2 separate regions of the Homo sapiens genome follow, and region 2 is linked to region 1. Evidence: promoter capture Hi-C in 16 types of primary human blood cells and fetal thymus (Javierre and others, 2016). All regions are on one chromosome and are shown on one strand. The core of a region is centred on a gene start or on the middle of the fragment in contact, and the rest is flanking DNA. Distances in the headings are between cores, read along the strand shown. Region 1 holds the start of ZNF583 (zinc finger protein 583). Region 2 holds the start of ZNF17 (zinc finger protein 17).

Region 1 (5,227 bases), core at 1,878-4,377:
TAGCTTGAACCCGGGAGGCGGAGGCTGCAGTGAGCAGAGATCACACCATTGCACTCCAGCCTGGGCAACAGGGCGAGACTCTGTCTCAAAAAAAAAAAAAAAATCTAAGGACTCCAAAATCACTAAGCCAAGGGAAAGTCAAGCTGGGAACTATGTCAGGCAAGGCTGCCTCTCATTTGATTCCTAAATACAATAGCTATAAAGATTAAAAGCTACATACCTCCCTCACAATTTGCCCACAAGGAAATTCCTTTTGGACAAAGGACAGAAAGAATTCAAAGTCATCCCTCTGAGGCTCACCTGAGAGAAATGCATATCTGATTGCTTCCTTGGACCTAGTGTTTATGTAAAAATGCAAATTCACAGAGCCAGACTAAATTGTGTATTCAGTGGAAAGCTAATCAATAACTCAAAAGAATGCAACCTTTTGTCCCACATCTATTTATGACCTGGAAGCCTCCACCTCAGATTTTTCCACCTTACCTGACTGAACCACTGTACATCTTACACATAGTGATTGATGTCTCATATCTCCCTAAGATGTATAAAAGCAAGCTGTACCCCAACCACCTTGGGCACATGTCATCAGAACGTCCTGAGACTGTCAGTGCTTCCCTAACCATGGGAAAATAAACTTTCCAAATCGATTGAGACCTGTCTCCAATACCTTTTGGTTTACAACATACTGTTATTTATTTGACCATTCTTCTACTTGTAGCTGTGGAGTCCTGATAAGTAAGCAACAATGAGGAAGGGGCCCCAGTGGGGAAGTACAATGAACAGTTGTCCTGAGAAATGGCTAATCAAACAACAGCTCTCTCCAGGATGACCCTATAAAACTTCCTTCCAGCTCCTGCCTCTTTGCAGACAGCTCCTTCTCTCCTGTGCTGCCAGTTGCAACCTTGCAATGTATTTTCATACGTTCTCTAATAAATCTGCCTTTCTTTAGGACTGTCCTGGTAAATATGAGACTGTTTTCTTTACCGCCTTTGATACAAGCCCTATCTAGTTGCTACCCATGACAGTAGGTATATTGTTTATGTTCAACATTTTATTATAAACAATGTTTCAGCTGGGCTCGGTGGCTCATGCCTGTAATCCCAGCACTTTGGGAGGCTGAGGCAGACAGATCAGGAGGTCAGGAGATTGAGACCATCCTGGCTAACAGGTGAAACCCCGTCTCTACTAAAAATACAAAAAAATTAGCCAGGCGTGGTGGCACGTGCCTGTAGTCCCAGCTACTCGGGAGGCTGAGGCAGGAGAATGGCATGAACCTGGGAGGTGGAGCTTGCAGTGAGCTGAGATTGCGCCACTGCACTCCAGCCTGGGTGACAGAGCAAGACTCCGTCTCAAAAAAAAGTTTCAGTTAGTATTTTTTGCTGATATCATAGTTGCGTTTGTTTAATTTCCTCAAATAAAATTCCCAGCTTATATGATGCTCTTTGTCACTGGCAACTTTGGTCAGACAATTAAATGAAGCAATTGAAGGGCACAACAGGATTTTGGAAGGGATGGTACAGGATTGGGAGATAAACTAGAGATAGGAGTTTATAAAATATTTTCAAAGACAGATTGAAGAATAGGAATAAGAGTATGATATTGTGAAATATATATTTGATCTTCCTAGCATAGAACTTCTAAAATCCTTAGAAACTACAAAGTAACAGTAAAAACTCATTTTGTATGCTAATGAGTTGACAGCTGGCAACCCCTATAGAGTTTCAGGATGGGGACTGGTTATGGAAAGACCAAGACATGACTAGAAGGTTGGGACATTCAACCCCACCCCCAACCCTAAGGAGGGGACGGGATTTTAATCAACCATGCCTATGTAATGAAGCCTCTGTAAAACTCCCAAAAGACAGGGTTTAGAGAGCTTCCACCCAGCTGAACATGTGGAGGTTACTGGAAGGTGCAACACCCTTTTTTCTGTACTTTGCCCTACGCATCTCTTCATCTATATCATTTGTAATATCCTTTATAATAAACTAGTAAACATAAGTGTTTCCTGAGTTCCGTGAGCCACTCTAGCAAAATATCGAACCGCAAAGAGGGGGTGGTGAAAATCCCAATTTGAAGGTGGTGGAGTCAGATGTTCCAGAGGCTAGACTTTAGTGGGAAGTGGGAAGGGGGAGGCAGGCTTGGGGACTGAGCCCTCAGCGAATGGTGTCTGACCCATCTCCAAGTAGACGGCGTCGGAATTAAACTGGAGGACACCCAGCTGGTGCCCGCTGCAGAACTCACTGAACTCATTGCTTGCTTGAGATGTGTGGGAAACTCCCCTATATTTGGTCAGAAAAGTCTTCTGTTATGATTAGTTGTCGTTGAGATAATAGAAAAAAATGCACCTTGCGTTTTTTCCACTGATTCAGAGGGCATAACTGAAAGAATGAAGAACTGAAAGAATGATCTTAATACTCTGCTTCGCTTTTCTTGATAATACGCATTACTTCCCAATATGCATCAGTGTCCTTTATTATTAATTTTTTCCTATTGAATTCCTCCCGCATTAGAATGCTGCTCCATGAGGTGGGGATTTTGTCTGCTTGTTCACTGCTGTGTGCCCAGGGCCCACGACAGTGCCCGATACAGCAGGCGCTCAATAAGTGGCGAATGAAAGACAGGGCAAGGCGGAGAGAGAAGAAACAGAAAGGGAAAGAGAAAGCCCGGGCCGCCAGAGCGCTTAATCACACGTACATCCTACCGGGCCCCTCTCCAGCTGGCTCAGGCTCCACACTGGTCCTCCAGCTCCCTTTTCTCAGCGATGGACTCACAGCCCCACCCGGAGCGCTGGAGCGCGGACGCGGTCACTGCGCGTGCGCCTCACCGCGCTGGCACCCCGGCCTGGCAGCCTTTGGGGACCTGAACCAGCTGCGCCTGCGCAGGTGGAACGGGTGGAACGGGTGGGGGAGCGGACAGTCGAACGGCCTGAGAGGGCTCAGCTGGTCCGGGTGGGATTCTGAAGGCCAGCGGAGGTGGGCTTACTAGGGAAAGGGGCGCAGCAGTAACTACCCGCAACTGAGCGGCGGGATCTGCGGCCGCCCGGGGCCCTCGGCCAACATCCCAGCATCCTCTGCGCCGCGCCGGCCCCGGACTCCATTTCCCAGCGGCCCCTGCGGCCTGCCCTAGGGCTGCGGCGCCTTTGTGAGCGCGGCCGCCGGCCAGGATCGAGCCCTGGCCCGGGCCCTGGCCCAGCCCCGGCCTCCAAGGACCGCGCCGAAGGAGGTGCCCACTGGAGGGAGGAGGCGGTGAGGAGCGCGGGATGGAGCTGACGCCGGGAGCGGCCATGCCACCATGTGTGGGACCGTGTGTGACAGTGTGTGAGAATGTGTGAGACATTAAGGAACCGTGTGTGACAATGTGTTTGACAGTGTGGAATCGTGTGTGAGACCATGTGTGACTGTGTGAGAATTTGAGACCGTGTGTGACAGTGTGAGAATGTGAGGCCGTGTGTGAATATGTGTGTCAGTGTGAGACCATGTGGGACAAATGTGGGACTATGTGTGACAGTATGAGACTGGGTGTGAGAATGTGTGCGACAGTATGAGACCGTTGCCCCGGTGTATGCGGGAGCCTTTGACAGTATATGGGACCGTGTGGGACTGTGTGACACTGTATGTGCTTAAGACCACGTCACCATGTGTGAGACTGGGAATGTGTGACAGTGTTAAACTGTCATTATGTGTAGACCACGTGTGAACAGTGTGTAAGACCATGTCACTGTGTGTGTGACCTGTGTGTGTGGGATAATGTAAGACTGTGTGACAGTGTGTGTGACTTTGTGAACAGAGCTTGACCGTGTGTGTAGGATTAGATGAGACTGTGACAGTATGTGAGACCATGTCACCGTGTGTGAGGCTATGTGTGGTTGTGTACGGTGTGTGGCTGTTGATATGGGACCACATGAAACTGCGACAGAATTTGTGTGACAGTGTGTGAGACTGTGTCACTGTATGTGAAACTGTATGTGAACAGAGTTTTTGTTGTTGGACTAAGATTGTATGTGACAGTGTTTGAGATTGTGCATGACAGTGTGTGTGATTATGTGAGACTGAGGGAGATGGTGTGACTTAGCACTGTATGTCATCCCGACAGTGAGTGTGACAGTGTGACTGAGAATGGCCTTATATGACCCATTGTGAGAGCAGGGCGGGCTACAATGTGGGGGCATGTCCATAGGTTGCCAGGGGAGGTGCCAGAATGAGAAACTATGTGGTTTGTTGTCTGTGATTTGTGTGGGCAGGAAGCTGTGTGGGTGCTTGGAGATGCTGGTGTGCTCTGGGGTTTGGGAGACTGCTGTTGTGGTGGAGAGACAGAAAGATTGAGATAAAGGGGAAAAGATGGAGAAAGGGAGGGACGAGAGCTGAAAAGGGAGAGACAGACAGGAGCCTCAGCCTTAAGCCTGAAAAGCTGACCACGCTGGCTGCTTGTCCTCTGGCACAGTAGTTTTTCCATCCCTCTCAGTCTCTGGGGGCACGTGAGGAATTTAAAAGGAAAAAGGAATGGGAGACCTACCATGTGCTGGTTATGAAAATAAATGACAGAAAGATGAAAATTAAGCACTGTGCTCAATGCTTTATGTAGATCATTTCAGAATCCTCCCAACAATTGATAGGGAATAGTTACCATTTCACTGATAGAGAAACAGGTTTGCAGTGGTTACCTAACTTGCCAGAGGTTGTATAGGTAGCATGTGGTGGTTTGGCTGTTTGAGACCAGGTGTTCTGATCCTTAAGCCTAGTAGTTCTTACCACTGAGTTATGCCACTTCATAGGTAATGGCTTTATTCTTCAAGGCAGTGAGGTCTGCTGGACAAGAATTCACCATAGGGGGTTTGGATGACTGTTCAAGCATAGCCTGCTCCTCCCTCCCTCTCTCCTTCTTTCTGTCTGAGGAGATTGCCCAGAAAAGTCAAGAGATTAGTTTTCAGTTGTGGGTTGTCATAAGCCAGGACCAGAAGTAGGCCGTCTTGACTCTTTGATCGAGTGTCCACCACACTACATGGACCCTCTGATACTCACTCTGTGTATAGAGATGCTTTCTCTGAGAAATTTCACTTTGTAGCTTTATCTGTCATCCTTGCAGAAAGGGTGGGAACATATTTCCTTTCAACATCATGATCGGGTGGAAAGAATTAAAAGTTAGAACTGGTTTCCAGTTTGGCTTAATTATTACCATGATGCCTTGAATAATTACTCCGATGAAGAGCCTTCATGTGTGAAAGAGG
Region 2 (5,227 bases), core at 1,356-3,855, 1.0 Mb after region 1:
TCACCATACAGCCGCTCATTACATGAAAGTGGAATTTCAAAAGGTAGCGAAACACCTAATAAAATATGTTGAAAGGGCTGGGCATGGTGGCTCATGCCTGTAATCCCAGCACTTTGGGAGGCCAAGCCGGGTGGATCATGAGGTCAGGAGTTCAAGACCAGCCTGGCCAACATGGTGAAACCCTGTCTCTACTAAAAATACAAAAATTAGCCAGGTGTGGTGGTGCACACCTGTAGTCCCAGCTACTCGGGAGCTGAGGCAGGAGAATTGCTTGAACCCAGGAGGCAGAGGTTGCAGTGAGCTGAGATCGTGTGACTGCACTCCAGCCTGGGCAACAGAGCGAGACTCTCTCTCTCTCCCTCTCTCCATATATATATATATATATACATACACATACACAAAGATATGTGGCCTGTCACCAAGTGTTAGATGGATGTTTGGGCCAGGCGAGGTGGCTCATGCCTGTAATCCCAGCACTTTGGGAGGCTGAGGCGGGTGGATCACCTGAGGCCAGGAGTTCAAGACCAGCCTGGCCAACATGGTGAAACCCCGTCTCTACTAAAAGTACAAAAATCAGCCAGGCGTGGTGGCCATGCCTGTAATCCCAGCTACTCAGGAGGCTGAGGCAGGAGAATCGCCTGAACCTGGGAGGCAGAGGTTGCCGTGAGCCGAGATCGTGCCATTGCACTCCAGCCTGGGCGACAGAGAGAGACTCTATCTCAAAAAAAGAAAAAAAAAGTTTGTTTAGTTTCTGTTGGTAAATATCTAGAAATAGAATTGTAGGATGGTAGGGATGTATTGTTGGTAAATGATTAACATGTTTTTAATTTTCAGTTTTTTCAGAGACGGGGATCTCACTATATTGCCCAAACTGGTTTTGAACTTATGAACTCAAGTAATCCTCCCGTCTTAACTTCCATGTAGCTGGCACTACTGAACAGCTTTAACTCTTCCAGACCTTCAGTTGGGTGGTTTTTTCTTTTCCTTTCGTTTCCTTCTTTCTCTCTCCTTCCTTCCTTCTTTTTGTAATTTGATAAACCAAATTTCAAGACTTTGGCCAAAAAACAGTCTTCTCCTTTACTGAATATCTCAGTGCTCCATTTTATTTTTCCCTCACCAATTCTGCAGGAGAGATCACAAGACTATGTCCATATCTTTATTTGTGGGGGTATGATTTTCAGCTAACATAGCTGCTAAGTGATTTAATTTACAATTATAGTGGTAGAAAAATAGCTCTAACTTCTGAGGTTTTGTAATTTATTGTAAAAAGCGGAATACAGGACATTTAAAGTGACCTGACAAGGTCAATACAGGACTGAGGACTAATTCATTAAATACGTCTTACGTGTCTTAGAGGACCACAGACAGCTAGCAACCCTACTCCTAATGTGTCCCATGCACTTAGTATTGTACCTGGCATCGAATGAGTGTTCATCAAATATGTTAGAGTAATAAATACGACAGCACAGTTTCCCTATTCAGCTTTACTTTTCTGGTAACTCTTTTAATATATAGTCTTTACCTCTCCCTTCAAGCTGTTAATGCACAATGTTTTCAAGTTTGAAAAAGAATCAGATTTTGGACACCAAACTTGAGTGTGTCCAAGGTTCCAGGACAACCTTAGCTTTTTTCCTCCTATCACAAATATGTTTCTCTATAACTATTTTTGCCACTTTCTTTGGATATCTACATAATCGTCATTAATAGTTTCAGTAATAGCCATTTCACAAGAGTTATTCAGAGACAATTTCAACTCCCTGTGCAGACACTGTTGATACAATTTCAGGCGAAATGATAAATCACTTTCCACTAATGAGATGAGATCATGCATTCCCAAACCTTTATCTCAGGAGTAAGATGCTTTCTTTGCACAAGGGCTTTGACTGGTGGAAGGCCACACTATTCTGGCAGATAATGGTAGATAAGTCGCTTTTCCTTTTCAGTTAGGTTTCAGTCTCTTAAAATAAGTGGAAAATATCTCAGATATAAAGTAATAAGTATCATGTGAATAAAGTGTTGCTGGGTAGGCTGAAAGACAATAACTGATTATTCAGAAAGGAAAGATATTACTCCTCAAACTCCCCATCATGCCATGTCTGGGTCTTTTCAATGTGCCCAGCAGAGCACATTGAAGATCATAAAACAGTCTCCAGAGCTTCGTTCTGTGTGTATTTGGCAAGCACAAAAGAGCTGACCGCTATGCGTGGAAGACCAGTTCTTTATGGTTGGCCATGTTCCTTCGGATGTTCGTCTTTTGGGAACTTGCTGTGCTTTACAGAATCTGAAAGGACAGGTCTCTGAAACATTTCTCTGACTTGTTCTAGACTGCCTTCCGGGAAAATCTGGATGCTTGCCGTTTAAAAGCCAATGAAGCCCCTCCACGTCCTTGGAGCCCCGCAACTGCATTTCTCAAAGCCTCAGGAGGATCCTCCTGGCTTTCATCCTGAACGCGAGTTAACTTAAGTTCAGAAGCGGGGCAGGCAGTGGCCTGGGAACTACATTACCCAAAAGACACAGCGGCGGACACAAGCAGCGAGTGTAGCCAATGAAGGCCTAGCAGAGCGGCGTCTACGGGGGTTCGCAATGCGTGTGGGCGGGACTTCCTGCAACGCCTCCTGGGGTTGTCAATATGGCTGCGTTGGGATCTGTTCACCTTCAGGCTGAGTCGAGACTGAGGTGAAAAAGCGGAAAAACGCGAGAAAAGGTTTCCCCGTTGTACAGAGGCTAGAGTGAGGCTCGGTTGAATCGGTTGCAGGCGTTGGTGCCTCTGTCAGCGTCCAGGTCACTGCCGCTCCCGCCCCGCTCTTCCCTGGCTGTGCTGGCGGAGGCTGCGCCGATGAACCTGACTGAGGTGGGTGCCGCGTCCCAGGGCGCCCCGCCCGATCCCTCCTCCGAGTGCCGAAGCCCCGAGGAGGGGCCCTGCAGGTCAGGCCCCTGTGTCCCAAAGAGAGGAGCGTTCTTGTGTGGGGTACCGGTGTCCGCGGTGCTGTGAGGCGGGGGAGCTCCTGTCAGGGACCTGCACGTGCGAGGCTTAGAGGTGCTGCAGAGCGGGCGGCACTGGGGAGCCCGAGCGTCTTTGTCTCCACGGAGCTGAGGGTGAGGCGGAGTCTCGCCTGGGAGGGCAGCGGAGCTGCTGAAAGCCGTAGAAGGCTGTGCAGGAAGGGTTATGCCCAGAGGTAGACGTTTAAAGTTGGGAAAAACAGGATGTTAAACCAGGACAAGGGGACCGCTGAGGAGACCCCTTGAGTTATGGTAGGGATGGGCCAGAGGGGTTGCAGTAGAGGGGAAGTGTGATGAGATTCTGGATGGATCTCAGAGATAGAGTCGACAGGATTTCCTGCTGCATCAAATGTAGCAGTGAGGGTAGTGAAGGGTCTATTCCATGGATTTTGTTTTGGCCTGAAAATCTGAAAGAATGGAGTTGGAGAAGTCAGCTTAGGGAGCAGGTTTCAGAGAGGATTATGAGTTGCATTTTGGAGGGCTGAGTTTTGGAGGGCAGATCATGGGTGGGTCCATAAGCCTGACGCTACCTTTAGAAAGGCGCAGACCTGTCATAGGAGGGATTCTGGCTCATATCTGCAAAAACGGAGTTCTGAATGGGTTAAGGAACTGGCCTAGGCTGGAGACTGAGGTGTGAGGTGGTTTAGATTTCTGCACCTGCAGACCCAGCAGCCCCCCAGGCCCACTCTGTGGAACAATAGGAAGGTCATCCAGACTAGTGGGGACATTGGGTCCAGACGGGGGTAGGGCTTTCTCACATCTAGTCAAGGGCCTCCAGCAAGCTTCCAGCAACTGAATTTGTAGCAGGCAGGCCTGGTTGCTGATGGGACCAGTAACTGACCTGCTTGCTTATCCCCTCCCTGCAACTTATTTATTTATGAATGTGTAAAACATTTTTTTTTTTTTTGAGACAGAGTCTCGCTCCATCGCCCAGGTTGGAGTGCAGTGGCGCGATCTCGGCTCACTGCAAGCTCCGCCTCCCGAGTTCAAGCAATTCTCCTGCCTCAGCCTCCCGAGTAGCTGGGACTACAAGTGCCCGCCACCACGCCAGGCTAATTTTTTGCATTTTTAGTAGAGACGGGGTTTCACCGTGTTAGCTAGTATGGTCTCTATCTCCTGACCTCATGATCTGCACGCCTCAGCCTCCCAAAGTGCTGGGATTACAGGCATGAGCCACCGCGCCCGGCCGAATGTATAAAACATTTATTTAACCACTAATGAACCAGTATCCTTCTAAATATGTACACATAGGTCGGCAGTTAGAAATGAATGTAACCAATAGTTAAATTTATTCACTTAATAATTGTTGAATGTTGATTTTTCTTTTTTCTTTTTTTTTTTGAGACGGAGTCTCGCTCTGTCGCCAGGCTGGAGTGCAGTGGCGTGGTCTCGGCTCACTGCAACCTCTGCCTCCCGGGTTCAAGCGATTCTCCTACCTCAGCCTCCCGAGTAGCTGGGATTACAGACATGCGCCACCATGCCCATCTAATTTTTGTATTTTTGATAGAGACAGGGTTTCACCATGGTTGGCCAGGATGGTCTTGATCTCTGCACCTCGTGATCCGCCCACCTCGGCCTCCCAAAGTGCTGGGATTAGAGGCTTGAGCCACCATGCCCGGCTGAATGTTAATTTTTCTATTTGCTTGCAATGGAAAGTTTTATGTATCACATTTCCTTAACACCGTAAGAAGTGGGAAAAATACACACCCAAAATTTCAAAACCCTTCCATGTCATTTGTACCGAAAACATGTAAAAAATATTTAATCCAGTAGAAAGAAATTGCTGATACATAGTGTGTACTACTTATATTTGATGCCCATATAAGCCCTATTAGTTGGCAATCCTTTTAATCTCTATTTTACACATAAGGGCACCGAGACTTAAGGAAGTTCAGTCCTCATCAAGACACTGAACCCTGAGGACTTACTGTGTACCCTCAGATAACTTTGCTCTAGTTGCAGGGCCAGAGGTGGTTGTACAGTCAGCCTGTAGGATGCTGCAATGCTGTCTTAATCCTCATGGCCTGCCTCTTCCCACAGGGTTCATAGCAGTGGCAGCAATGCTTATGGATGCTGGACAGGTGAGTGGAGAGTGTTTCCAGCTTTCACCCATCCCAGATGGTTTCAGCATGCTGATATAGGGAATGGTGTTATCCTGAGACTGTTCACCTTTTCTTCTCTCTCCCTTGGGTCCAAGGAGAGCCTGTAGTTCCACCAGACCTGGGTT

What was found. Contacts are between HindIII fragments. The CHiCAGO score rates a contact against its expected background, and 5 or more counts as called.
Region 2: a contact is called between the fragment with the promoter of ZNF17 here and the fragment with the promoter of ZNF583 in region 1, in 3 of 17 cell types (neutrophils, total CD4 T cells and activated CD4 T cells). The highest score is 8.4, in neutrophils.

Annotation. Positions count from the first base shown.
Region 1 is chr19:56,401,205-56,406,431 of GRCh38, forward strand. It overlaps ZNF583 (zinc finger protein 583), which reads left to right and starts at 3,128. Exons shown (of 5, transcript NM_152478.3): 1 at 3,128-3,248. RefSeq lists an enhancer at 2,552-2,691 and a silencer at 3,152-3,361. The HindIII fragment of the contact is 8,045 bases long and covers 1-5,227 here.
Region 2 is chr19:57,408,556-57,413,782 of GRCh38, forward strand. ZNF17 (zinc finger protein 17) reads left to right here and starts at 2,606. Exons shown (of 4, transcript NM_001330617.2): 1 at 2,606-2,851; 2 at 5,041-5,081. The coding sequence starts at 5,061. RefSeq lists enhancers at 2,610-2,719, 2,800-2,859 and a silencer at 3,103-3,305. The HindIII fragment of the contact is 5,033 bases long and covers 1-3,780 here.